3 separate regions of the Homo sapiens genome follow, and regions 1 and 3 are each linked to region 2. Evidence: promoter capture Hi-C in 16 types of primary human blood cells and fetal thymus (Javierre and others, 2016). All regions are on one chromosome and are shown on one strand. The core of a region is centred on a gene start or on the middle of the fragment in contact, and the rest is flanking DNA. Distances in the headings are between cores, read along the strand shown.

The links. Contacts are between HindIII fragments. The CHiCAGO score rates a contact against its expected background, and 5 or more counts as called.
Region 1: a contact is called between the fragment with the promoter of GLRX here and the fragment with the promoter of ST8SIA4 in region 2, in 3 of 17 cell types (non-activated CD4 T cells, naive CD8 T cells and total B cells). The highest score is 9.5, in non-activated CD4 T cells.
Region 3: the fragment with the promoter of KIAA0825 here is called in contact with the fragment with the promoter of ST8SIA4 in region 2 in 1 of 17 cell types (naive CD8 T cells); the score reaches 7.9 in naive CD8 T cells.

The regions. Positions count from the first base shown.
Region 1 is chr5:95,820,680-95,824,345 of GRCh38, reverse strand. GLRX (glutaredoxin) reads left to right here and starts at 1,620. Exons shown (of 3, transcript NM_001118890.2): 1 at 1,620-1,890. The coding sequence starts at 1,684. RefSeq lists enhancers at 372-872, 1,103-1,192, 3,109-3,248. The HindIII fragment of the contact is 7,969 bases long and covers 1-3,666 here.
Region 2 is chr5:100,901,388-100,905,032 of GRCh38, reverse strand. It overlaps ST8SIA4 (ST8 alpha-N-acetyl-neuraminide alpha-2,8-sialyltransferase 4), which reads left to right and starts at 1,751. Exons shown (of 5, transcript NM_005668.6): 1 at 1,751-2,190. The coding sequence starts at 2,078. It overlaps LOC107986437 (a long non-coding RNA gene), which reads right to left and starts at 1,625. Exons shown (of 2, transcript XR_001742825.3): 1 at 1-1,625. RefSeq lists enhancers at 349-588, 1,369-1,608, 2,094-2,663. The HindIII fragment of the contact is 2,860 bases long and covers 1-2,204 here.
Region 3 is chr5:94,616,366-94,620,204 of GRCh38, reverse strand. It overlaps KIAA0825, which reads left to right and starts at 1,601. Exons shown (of 21, transcript NM_001145678.3): 1 at 1,601-1,705. It overlaps SLF1 (SMC5/6 complex localization factor 1), which reads right to left and starts at 1,536. Exons shown (of 21, transcript NM_032290.4): 1 at 1,440-1,536. RefSeq lists enhancers at 815-924, 1,315-1,494, 1,805-1,984, 1,723-2,587. The HindIII fragment of the contact is 3,766 bases long and covers 1-2,264 here.

The DNA of each region.
Region 1 (3,666 bases), core at 371-2,870, 5.1 Mb after region 2:
AAGGCTCTGAGTGAGTAGCAGGTGCAAGTCGTGTGGATAAACCTCAGGCTGAGGGAACTTAAGGCAACAGCCTGAGGGCCCTGAAACAGACCCTGGACCTCCTGGCAGGGGCCTCTGGAAGGAGCCTGGCCACAGGGTTCTGAGGTAAAAGAATGAAAAAAGAGAGGAGGCTCAGACTCTGTGGCAGAGCCTACTTTGGAGGGAAGTGGGAAGTGGGAAGTCCGGAGCCCTGACCACGTGAGGGGCCTCCCAGCCCTGCCACATCCTTTTCTCTGGACAGAGCTGTCACTTAGCTCCCCCTCCGTGACTCAGAATCTGGCTTTCTCATTTTGCCATTTTAATTCTAGTAACGATGAGAGTCACAGTAAAAAGCTGCTTCTGGGAGTGGATTTTCTTCCCTTCCCTTGATCGCAGTATGCTTGGGATTCCTCTTACGTGGCAGTCGTGGTGTCCAGCTCTGGCCTTGGCCCCGCCTCTTTGAAGATACTCTGGTTTCACCATAAAACTTCCTGGGGAAAGGATGATTCACGTTTAAAGGACATAGTTTTTCCTTGATTTGTTTATTTAAGCTACCATACACTAGAGGGGGCCGGAACTAGACCCAGGAGTAGAGGACTTTGCTTTGCGGGATAAGGAGAATGGGCACCCTGGGGAAGAGCGAAAGATTTCCTACTGTTACAACCCGTGTCTTATAACACTTGAAGTGAATGTGGTGTCTGAGTTACAACACTACTTCCCCTCACAAACAGTTAAAAGCAGAGGGTCACAAACATAGGCTCAACCAGAAAAAAAGATTCTCATTTCATCTGTAGTTTTGTATCAAGGATTGTGTTGGAATTTGCCTCCATATTAAACTGCTGTTCAAGGGTTACCAACTCAAATGGTTATGGGGTGAAGCCGGTGTCTCAGGCATGGGCCTGTCGTTGGGACCTGTGGCAAACCAAAGCCACTACTTGCCCTATACAAAGGGGGCAACAGCTGTCAGCCCCAGCAGCTTCCACTAAAAGGTGCAAGCTCTGTATTGCCCGACCTGACTTTTCAGAGAGAAGTTTTAAGTCCGAATTGTTTTGTGAGACCTCCAGATTTTTAAATACTGAGAATGAATTCCATTAAAAAGATCACAACAACAAACACCCACCATACAGTCCAAGCAAAATGCTGTGAGAGCAACCTTCATGAGGAGTGCAAAGTCACAGTTTCAATTTCACTTCTTCTAAAGAGATTTCCAAGTGTTCTGTTTCTTAAGTGATTCTGTTTGCATTTTAAAATACAACTGTATCTCCTAGAGGGAAAACAAGAATTTGCTCTAAGAAGTCACTGCCTCCTCAGCCCCTTTGTGAGTAAGCACTTTATGCTTCCCCAGAGGTGACTAAACTCTGATCATTGCCAATGGGCAGGCACTCCCCAAATGTCCAAGGACAACAAAGATACCCAGAGTGTCTTTCATAGCTACCAATGATTAAATAGCAAGTATTGCATTCCTGGGCATTGCTAACTAGTGAAGTATACCAGATGGAAATGTCTTCGAAGCTGTCCCTTTAAAACTCGAGCAAGCTACCAGGCAAACTCCGCCTCCAGGGAGGTTCCTTATTAAATAGGAGCCAACTGGCTGGGTCGGGGCTCAATACCCCAAGCAATACCTGCAACTGAGGATTCTTCCCGGGGAGACCGCAGCCCATCGGCATGGCTCAAGAGTTTGTGAACTGCAAAATCCAGCCTGGGAAGGTGGTTGTGTTCATCAAGCCCACCTGCCCGTACTGCAGGAGGGCCCAAGAGATCCTCAGTCAATTGCCCATCAAACAAGGGCTTCTGGAATTTGTCGATATCACAGCCACCAACCACACTAACGAGATTCAAGATTATTTGCAACAGCTCACGGGAGCAAGAACGGTGAGTTTCATTTTAAACGGCTAGGGAAAGGCTCCCGGATTGCCTTTTCTTGTCAGAGCTGTGCCTTTCTTTAGGATAAGGCTGCGGCTCCGTACTTCAAGGCGTCCAGAGGGCTGTGCGGGGCGGGGGGTGTGGGGGAGGGCGCCTTAGAGAGGATCTCGGTCACTTGAATGAGCGGCGGCACTGCAGCCAAAGGTCTTCACGGGGCAGAAGAGGGAGTACAGCTGATGTCTGCTGTGCGGCAGGGTAAGTGGGACCAGCAGCTTGCCGGTGAGTCCCTGGGGAATTATCTAGAGTCTTTGTTTTAAGCACTGCCAGGAAATGACAGTTTTCAGTTGGCAGGGCTGGAGGTGGAAGCTGGGGTGGAGGGCCGGGTGTGATGTGTTTGTTATTTAACATGAGATTCATGTTCTTCATTCTTTTCTCTAGGCTTTCTTTTTCTAATTTGCTCATTCTTCCTTATCTAATTCCTCCCACTGGAAAAATCTAATGTACCGTTATCTGCCCCTTGTTCTAAATTAATTATGGATGTTTCCAGGCCCCACATTGTAGGGAATCATAGCCTGGAGTTCTGGCCTGGCTCTTATAATGGCTGGCTGTGTGATCCTGGGCAAGTCACCACCCCAGTAGTCCTCAAAGATCCCAGCTGCAAGACCAGATTAGGTGACCTCAGAGTCCCATTTGCTACGAATAGACTGTGGGACCCTCTAAAAATTGCTCTCCTCCATCCGAAAGACTTCCCTCTCTTCAGCATCCTTGGCTTTGCGTCCTGGGCTTCAGGAGGGATGCCAGCCACATCACCTGTATCAGTTCTGCTGTGAGGTGGGATGAGAAATGTCCCACCAGCTCAGCTAAGTTCTCTTTTACGATGCACGAATTCTACAGCACAGTGTTAGGCCAAGCACATATCCTATTTCAGTTTTAGTTTGACTTACAAGGTTGTCTCTGGGTTCTGAGTATAAAGCATTGGAGGTTGTTTCTCTCCCCTTCTCTCTAATAAGAAGTCAGCATTTTGGTGCAGAAAGGGGGCTTAGTGTGTTATCCTACTGCTGTGTGCTGAGGTCCTGGAGTATACACAATGACGAGAGAAGCTCTTGCTGCCTAGTGGGACCACCAGCTGCATAGGATGCCCAGGCCCTGAGAGGTGTAAAGGGCAGTGCAAACACTACTACGGGCCCCACTGTGGCTGCCACCCTGAGGACCTTTTAGCCATTGGTTCCCAAACTTTGCTGCACATTAGGATCACCTAGAGAGCTTTTAAAACAATCCTTATGCCCAAATTATGCCCCTCAATAACTAAATCACAATGTCAGAGGTGGGAGCCAAGCATTAGTTTTGTTTGTTCGTTTGTTTTGAGACAGTTTCATTCTTGTCACCCAGGCTGGAGTGCAATGGTGCAATCTTGGCTCACTGCAACCTCTGCCTCCTGGGTTCTCCTCAACCTCCCAAGTAGCTGGGATTACAGGCGCCCACCACCATGCCCAGCTAATTTTTGTATTTTTAGTAGAGACGGGGTTTCACCATGTTGGCCAGGCTGGTGTCGAACTCCTGACCTCAGGCGATCCACCTACCTCGGCCTCCCAAAGTGCTGGGATTAAACGGGTGAGCCACCACACCTGGGATTTTTATTTGGAAAAATCCCTTGGGGATTCCAATGTGCAACACAATTGGGATTATTGTTCTCAGCCCAACAGCATCTATTTTCCAGGAGGTAAAGCAAACCTCTTCATGTGTTCATTTAACAATTGCTTTTTTTTTTTTTTTGAGATGGAATTT
Region 2 (3,645 bases), core at 502-3,001:
TTATCCTTGAGAATTTAGCATCCTAACCATGCATCCCTCTCCCACCCGACCCCTGCCCTCAGCCCCGGATCCCTTTTAACTTAAATAAGAAGCTGTTTTATTCTGGCAGTTTTTGCCAGAAGAAAAGTGAGTCTAACAGAAGTCAATCTAACAGAAATGCATTAATGCAGGCTGGATTTGCCTAGACATCAATAAACTCGAAAGGCTCCCTGTGGGCCACTTGTAGTGTCAATAAACGTTCGTAATTACTTGCTCCTTGGAGCATTTTTATACCCGACCCCGTTCGCTGTGCTGCAAAGAGGAAATTCAAGATCTCGGAAGTTCTTAACTTCTTAAACTCTAGAGGAAGTATGGTAAACACTGGCGGGAACCTTGGGTTTTTAAGCAAAGATGCTGGCTGTTTTCGTTGCTATTTTAAGCTGTCAGGCGACAAGCAACTCAGAATTCCCCTTCTTACTTCCGGCGGGAGGGAAGATTGGAATTGGGCCTCATCATTTCTGAGCGTGAAAAACCGCTGAAGCTACTGTTCAACCTGAAGGAACACGGAATTCAACTGGAGAGAAACCCTGGCGACCAGGGAGCTGGGGACCGGCGCATATAGATGAGGGAAATCCTGGCTTCCAGACACTGTCTCATGCTAGAGGTGCCTCCCGACCTACCAGCCAACAGTAAAGACCGGAACCAAGGCGTGGTACTAGCAGAGTAGCAAGCATCTCTCCCAATGAGGGCAACGACTGGAGGATGGTGGAGAGGTACTCAGAGTGAACAATCGAACACAGAACTCTTGAAAAGTGTCCCTGCCACCCAATACAAGTACGAAAAATGGTGGGACGGAGGAGAGGTGACAATCAGAGGCTATATATATAATTGAGACTTTTAGAGAGGACTTTGCTCTTCCTTCCTCCCCTCCCTTTTCTTTCCTTTCTTTCTTTCCTTCCTTCCTTGGTATCCGAATGTGTGTGGGTGTACTTGCGTTTAAAAGAGAGGTCCATGGTAGCTGCTTTTTTTTCAGAACTCTGTTTCTCCGCAATGAAGTTTAAGTGGGATTGGAGTTTCCTTGACTTCTGCGTGAGGAGTTTCCAAATGGCAATGAAAGGGAGGCGCATAAATATCCATAAAGTTCCTAATGACACCTCTATCATCACTTGTTTCCTGCAGAATCCTGAGCCAGGGTCGTCGTCCACCACCCATGCAGAGTGGGCCCATCGGCTAACAGGTTCATGTGTGTATTTGCACTTTCCAGATTGAGTAATAAAAGTCTTCTTCCTTCCACCGCCGTCCCCACCCCCGCACCCCGTTTCACTCCACCTTGGAGGGCGTGTTTTTGCGTGTGAGGGTGTGTGTTTAGCAAAAGCGATTGAAAGAAGGTACTCTTCTTGCAATCCACCCCTAGCTCTACCTGAAGCATTCCTCTGGCGGGACGCTTTTGTAATCTGTCCCCAGGCGAGGTGCCCTCTCACCTAGATGCGGATAGACTATCTTGGAGCTCCCAGGTCCAGAGAGCTGATGCTTTGATGTCCCAGGAGAGTGTGTGTGATTCTGCGTGTACGTGTGTGTGCATATGTATGTATGTGTGTATGTATGTATATGTGTATGTGCGCGAGCTCGCAGGCGCGTAGCACTGTGAGCTTCCTCTCCCGGCACAGAGCAGGCAGAGCCGGGGACGTTACTCTCCAAGCAGCCTCCGCCCCCTCAGCCTGGTGATTGGCTTTGCGCAGCGTTTATCTCCTAGCAAGAGGGAAGGGCCAGTGACGCCCCCGAACCCAGCTGCAGAAGCTGCCGCCACCTCCAATGCACAAGGTGTCTCATCTGAAAAGAAACCTGAGCCCCAGGGAGGCGGCGCGGAGCGACCCTGGCAGAGCTGGCGCAAACAGGGCGAGAGGTCGCTGGGCAGCGTTCGAGGACCAGAGGGAGCTCGGCCACAGAAGACCCCAGTGATCTGATCCCGGGATCCCGGCTCCAAGCTCTCCTCGCATTTTACAGATTTCACCCCCGCGACTATCTCCCCAAAACGGAGCCTTTATATCAAGAGAAGGTGCGGGAGCTGGGGCAACCAGGACTTTCTCGGGCACCCAAGATGCGCTCCATTAGGAAGAGGTGGACGATCTGCACAATAAGTCTGCTCCTGATCTTTTATAAGACAAAAGAAATAGCAAGAACTGAGGAGCACCAGGAGACGCAACTCATCGGGTAAATGCAAAGCTTCATTTCAGGATATGACAAAAAGTCAAGCCATAAATGAAATGTGAATATAGAGGGTAGAGTGATGGTTAGGATAGCATGTGTGTTTGTTTGAGCTTGCGCGTGGTTAGTGTCATGAATTAAATAACAAAGGCTGTTGTTGAGATGTGCGTGCTTCTCTAAGCTGTTCCCAGTATGAGTTCAACTTGCTCTGTGTGGTTGTGGTGACAGTTGTGTTGGCCCTGGGTGCTCTCTCGCCAAAGGAGAAGTCACTGCAGAAGTGTCAACAAAGAACGTGTGTCCTTGTCCTTTTAATCTGTGGGCAGAACTCAAGAGAAATGTCTTTATTCACCAAACGGTTGCCTGTTTTCAATGTCCTATCACCTAAGGAGATACTGGAGATAGATGGTTTCTCGAAGGGCTGAAGTTAAAGCTTAGAAAGCAGGAAATAGGTATACTCTGTTTCTCTACTTTTTTTTTTTCTATTTGACGTTGGATAGATTAATGTGTTATAATTTGAATTAGAAACTCCAGTACCACTAAGGATACTTCCTTATTTGTTCTTCTACGGCTAAAACGCATGGGCGTCATGGTTACAGTTTTAGAAAGAAACTGGGTACTGTAGCTTCACACAGACTATATTTCTGCTATTTTTTTTAGTTTGTCTAGATGAGTTCAGACTCTCCCCCGCCCCACTAAGTTCTCTAAATATCACACTTCCTTCCACCCGCTGGCCTCTGTGTCTTTGAAGTTTACCCAGGAGGTGGTGCAACTTTGTGTTGCTGACATAGCTTGGAAGGCTTTTTCTGAGGATGTGAACCTGATTGTCAACTCTATTCAAAGTCCTGTTTCGGAAATCCTCCCTGTTCCGGTTTGGAGGCGTCCTCTATCAGAAACTACACACCAGCAGAGATGCCTGCCCAGTTTATATTTTTCTCTGACATTGATTAAAACAAAGAAAACAGCCCTTGCGTGTGTGTGTATGTGTGTGTGAGAGAGAGAGAGATGGGACTGCTAACACACACACATGCTCTTAAACTTCCTGCACTCCATTTCTTAATATTCCTGCTCCCTAGGTAATAAGCATTTATTTAAGCGAGCAAGATGCAGGTTGATCCTTACAGAAGGACTTGCTATTCTGTAGAAAACCAGGAAAACAGTAGCACAGTCAAAGCGGACTGGAAGAGAATGAAAAAGCTAGCAAGGAATGGGCTGGAATGGTCGTCATGCATCAACGAATCTATACATGGTCTATTCTGAGGGGGTAAAAAAGACCGGTATGAGGTCGTTTACACAAGACTGGGTGGCTTGAAAATCCAATCTAGCTCAGTTGTTAGAAAAGCAGGACTTTGGGCAGGGGCGTGGGCATCCCTTGCAGACCTGTGCTTGCCAGGCAGACAAAGGGGTCTTTAGAAAGGTGATGAATGGGCGCATGGGGCTCCGATGAGAGGCAGAGGCTAGAGC
Region 3 (3,839 bases), core at 352-2,851, 6.3 Mb after region 2:
AGTTCCTTTAAATTAAGAATACTCAAGAGTTACCCGGTGGCTCACGCCTGTAATCCCAGCACTTTGGGAGGCCGAGGCGAGCGGAACACTTGAGATCAGGAGTTCGAGACCAGCCTGGACAGCATGGTGAAACCCTGTCTCTATTAAAAATACAAAACATTAGTCGGGCGTGGTGTCGCGCACCTGTAATCCCAGCTACTCGGGAGGCTGAGATAGGAGAATTGCTTGAACCTGGGAGCCGGAGGTTGCAGTGAGCCGATAGGCACTGCACTCCAGCCTGGGCAACAGAGCAAGGCTCTGTCAAAGAAAGAAAGAAAGCAAAGGAAGGAAGGAAAGGTAAGAAAAGAAAATAAAGAAATATACTCTTTAATATAAATTCACCTCATACTAGCAACTTAGGTATTGAACACCTGCAATATACGTAATCAAACTTTCCAATAATGAGAACATCTTGCACATCCACAGGTATTTCCAAGAATTGAGGCACAACGGAATAACATAAACCAAAAAGTCCACAAGGTGCATTGTCTGTCACACATACATTGTAAATTCAGTTCAAATGTTCATTCCCAATATTTCAACAACAACAACAAAATTTTTTAATAAAGTCATTCGTCAAAAAAGAGGCTGGCGCCTCCAAAATCAAGCTCCATCTAACTCCTGAGTCAAATAATGATATGAAGTACCCGAGACGGACCAATTTTTTTTTTGTCAATATTTAATCTGAGGCTTTGGAAGTGGAAGAAATCTTAAAATAGCCACTCAGTCTTGTTTCCAGCCTTCAGGCAGCTGAAATATAAACCCCAGGAACACAGACCCTCCCTTCAGCGAAAAGTGTATGTGTGTATGTTTGTGTTTAAAGGCCTATAGCAGTCAGAGATAGGATCACTGCCGTTTTAGCAGTTTAAAAAAAAAAAATTCTACTAGAGAGGAAAGAATGACACAATTTTCTTCGTCACAGGAAAGTGGGCCTGGGGTATCCCAGCCACCTTCGCAGACGCTAAGTTATGGAAAGCAGCCAAAATTCTGGTATCAGGATGAGGCGTCCCCATGGGTTCTATGGAAACGAGAGACGCGGGGGGCCTAGCGCCTTCCAGGCGGCGGGCCGAGCGGCAGAGCTGCGCAAGCAGAAGCGGGGGAAGTGGCTCAGCCCAGTACTGCAGAGGGGCGCTCGGTGGCAGTCCCCGCAGCGGCACGGGCGAAGCGTCGCGGGGTCTGCAGCTGCAGCCCACCAACTCCGGCGCCGAGCGCGAAGTCGGGAGAGCTGGAACGAACTGCAGCTGGAGAAAGCGCGAGAGCCAGACACCGCTGCCGCTCACCCCAGCCGCTTCCTTCCTAGCCTCACAGCCGGGAGGCAGAAACTTCGGAGGTACCGCCCGGCGAAGAAACATCCCCACAGAGACAGAATACACTGTGTCTTCCTAGCTGAGCCCCTTTACCTTCCCGGTGTCTGGGATGCTTCCTTCGGTGGCAGCGGCGGCAGGGGCGACGACTGCCGCTGCAGCACTCAACTGCTTCACGAATCCGGGCTCTGGGAAACAATTTCCCGCCGCGCGCTAGGCAGCCCCGGAAGCGATAGTACCATTTCCGGGTGGTTGTCAGTGACGCTCCGGAGCCGTCGCCAGGGTGGTAATACCTGGTGCAGAGCTTGAGTCTGGCCAGCGGGTCAGGCTCTTGCTAGATCAGCACCGGAGGTGGAAGACTGGTAAGTGATTTTACTGGGTTTTCTCCTGCGCCTGATATTAATGGCTGGCCGGGGCTCTGTGCAGCATTATGGCCAGCCCGAGAAGTGAGTGGGCGAGGGTGGAACCAGAAGGAGTCCCCATCAAACCCCGTGGCGCTTGACACCCAGTGCAGCTGGAGAAGGCCCTGGGATCCCGGCTTACCGTCTTATCCACTCGCAAAATCTGTCTCCGACTTGGAACTCGACCTCGGGTCACCAAGTGTCCCTGGGCGAGGCCGAAGACACCGTGTACCGTGACTCGGCGTTGTGCCGAGTTTCTCTACCAATGATCAACGAGTTTCCTATCTCCCATTGGCAGCGTTTGGCCACTCTTGATTCCTGAGTACTGTTTCCGTAGTTCTGGGGTGCCGTGCCTGGAAGGCAGGAGGTTGGCTGAAGAAGACATCTTTTACAAACATTTAGGAAGTGAGATGGGGAGGTTCCTTCCTGATTTAGAATTAATTGAAGGTTCCTCCCGCCATTTGAATTGGATGAGAAGAACGGTCTTTGTTTTCATGGCTGAGACATAAGAGAACAAGCTTGTAATTTCATGCTTGGGCATTAGATGCATTTTTGGAAAGCAGTGATCAGTAAGTATGTGTGCTTTCAGAAAGGAATGCTTGCGTTCTGCTCCAGGCTTTGTCGATAATGAAGGATTCAGGAGAATTTTGGATGGAGGTCTGAGGTAGCCAGAATAGTTGTAAAGAGAAATTGCTTCCGACAAAGGGATAATGTGAGGAAAGGTGCTCATTTAAGATTTGAAAGATGTGATGTAGTGAACCTTGGCGACTTCTCTTAAGTAATGCAATTTCTTAGGTAACTAGTTTTCACTTGCCACCTTATATTTAGATAATTACCTCCCCACCAACCCCCGTAAAAGGCAGCTGACTGTTATTTTTTCAAAACAGTCAGTTCCCGAAAGAGTTGTAGGTACTATTGCATTTTTTTTATGGGTATGCTCCTCATACCCATAAAAACATTTTCTTTATCGGAGCATACCGATAAAGAAAAATGCAATATGTTCAATTCAAGGCCCCTGTTAACACCAGGCCAGTGTCTTCTTAACCTTTTGAGAGTAATGCAACAAACCATATTTAGGACAGCACATTGATTTTCTGGCCTTGTTGGTTAATAATTCAACAAACTTATAATCGCCCCATTAATCCCAATCTTGACATTTTGTTGAATCTTGTATTTTTTCTTTATTTCTCCAGTTGAAAGTATTATAAATTACTTCAGGGATATTATGTATTATATCTGTACAGCAACTAGTTTTTAGAGGCAGTGATTTCTCTCTTTGAATTGCTCTTGAATGTAGCCAATCATTAATACTTACCCCAAGTAGATACTGTCTGCCAGGCACTTTACATTTATTATTTTATTTAATGTTTAATAAAAAAAGAAAATCACAAAAATTGTATTATTTCTATTTTGCAAAACATTTTATACTGAGACCCAAAGAGGTTGTGATTTTCCATAAATTATACAATTAAATGGCACAATTAAAATTTGAATCCAGTCTACCTGACTCTAAATTTTGGCTCTTTTTACTGTGCTCTATACCTTTATAAGTAAACATAACAGTATCATTATTTTCACTCCAGGTAAAAATGGATAGATAGTATGTCACATTTAGAAATCAAGTGGATAGCAAAACTTGAGGATAAAAGGGACTTAAGGGATGTGTTCATCACCATAAGGTAATTTTGACATCTAAATAATGCAGTTTCTTTAGTGCCTTTATCCTTGGCCAGTTTTATTATCCTAATTCAAACAAATGCCTATACTGTACATTAGCATAACACTTGGGGCAAATGCAGAAGATCTGGAGACCATCAGCAAGCATATTGGTGACTGAGTCCAGAGTATCAGCTAACTATCTCTTTAGACAGCTTTTCACACACACATTTGTATACATGTATATTTGTGTGTGCATGTGTGTGTGTGTGTGTAGGGAGAAAGAATGAGTAAATGAGCACAAATTCATAAAATTCAACTTTGTAATGATTTATAAGGAATTATTAGCAAAACTGTGCTGTTCCACTCACGTAACCCTCAAACAGATGGGGATTATCACATAGTTTCAGGAATATGCTTTATTAAACCTGCCCATCCC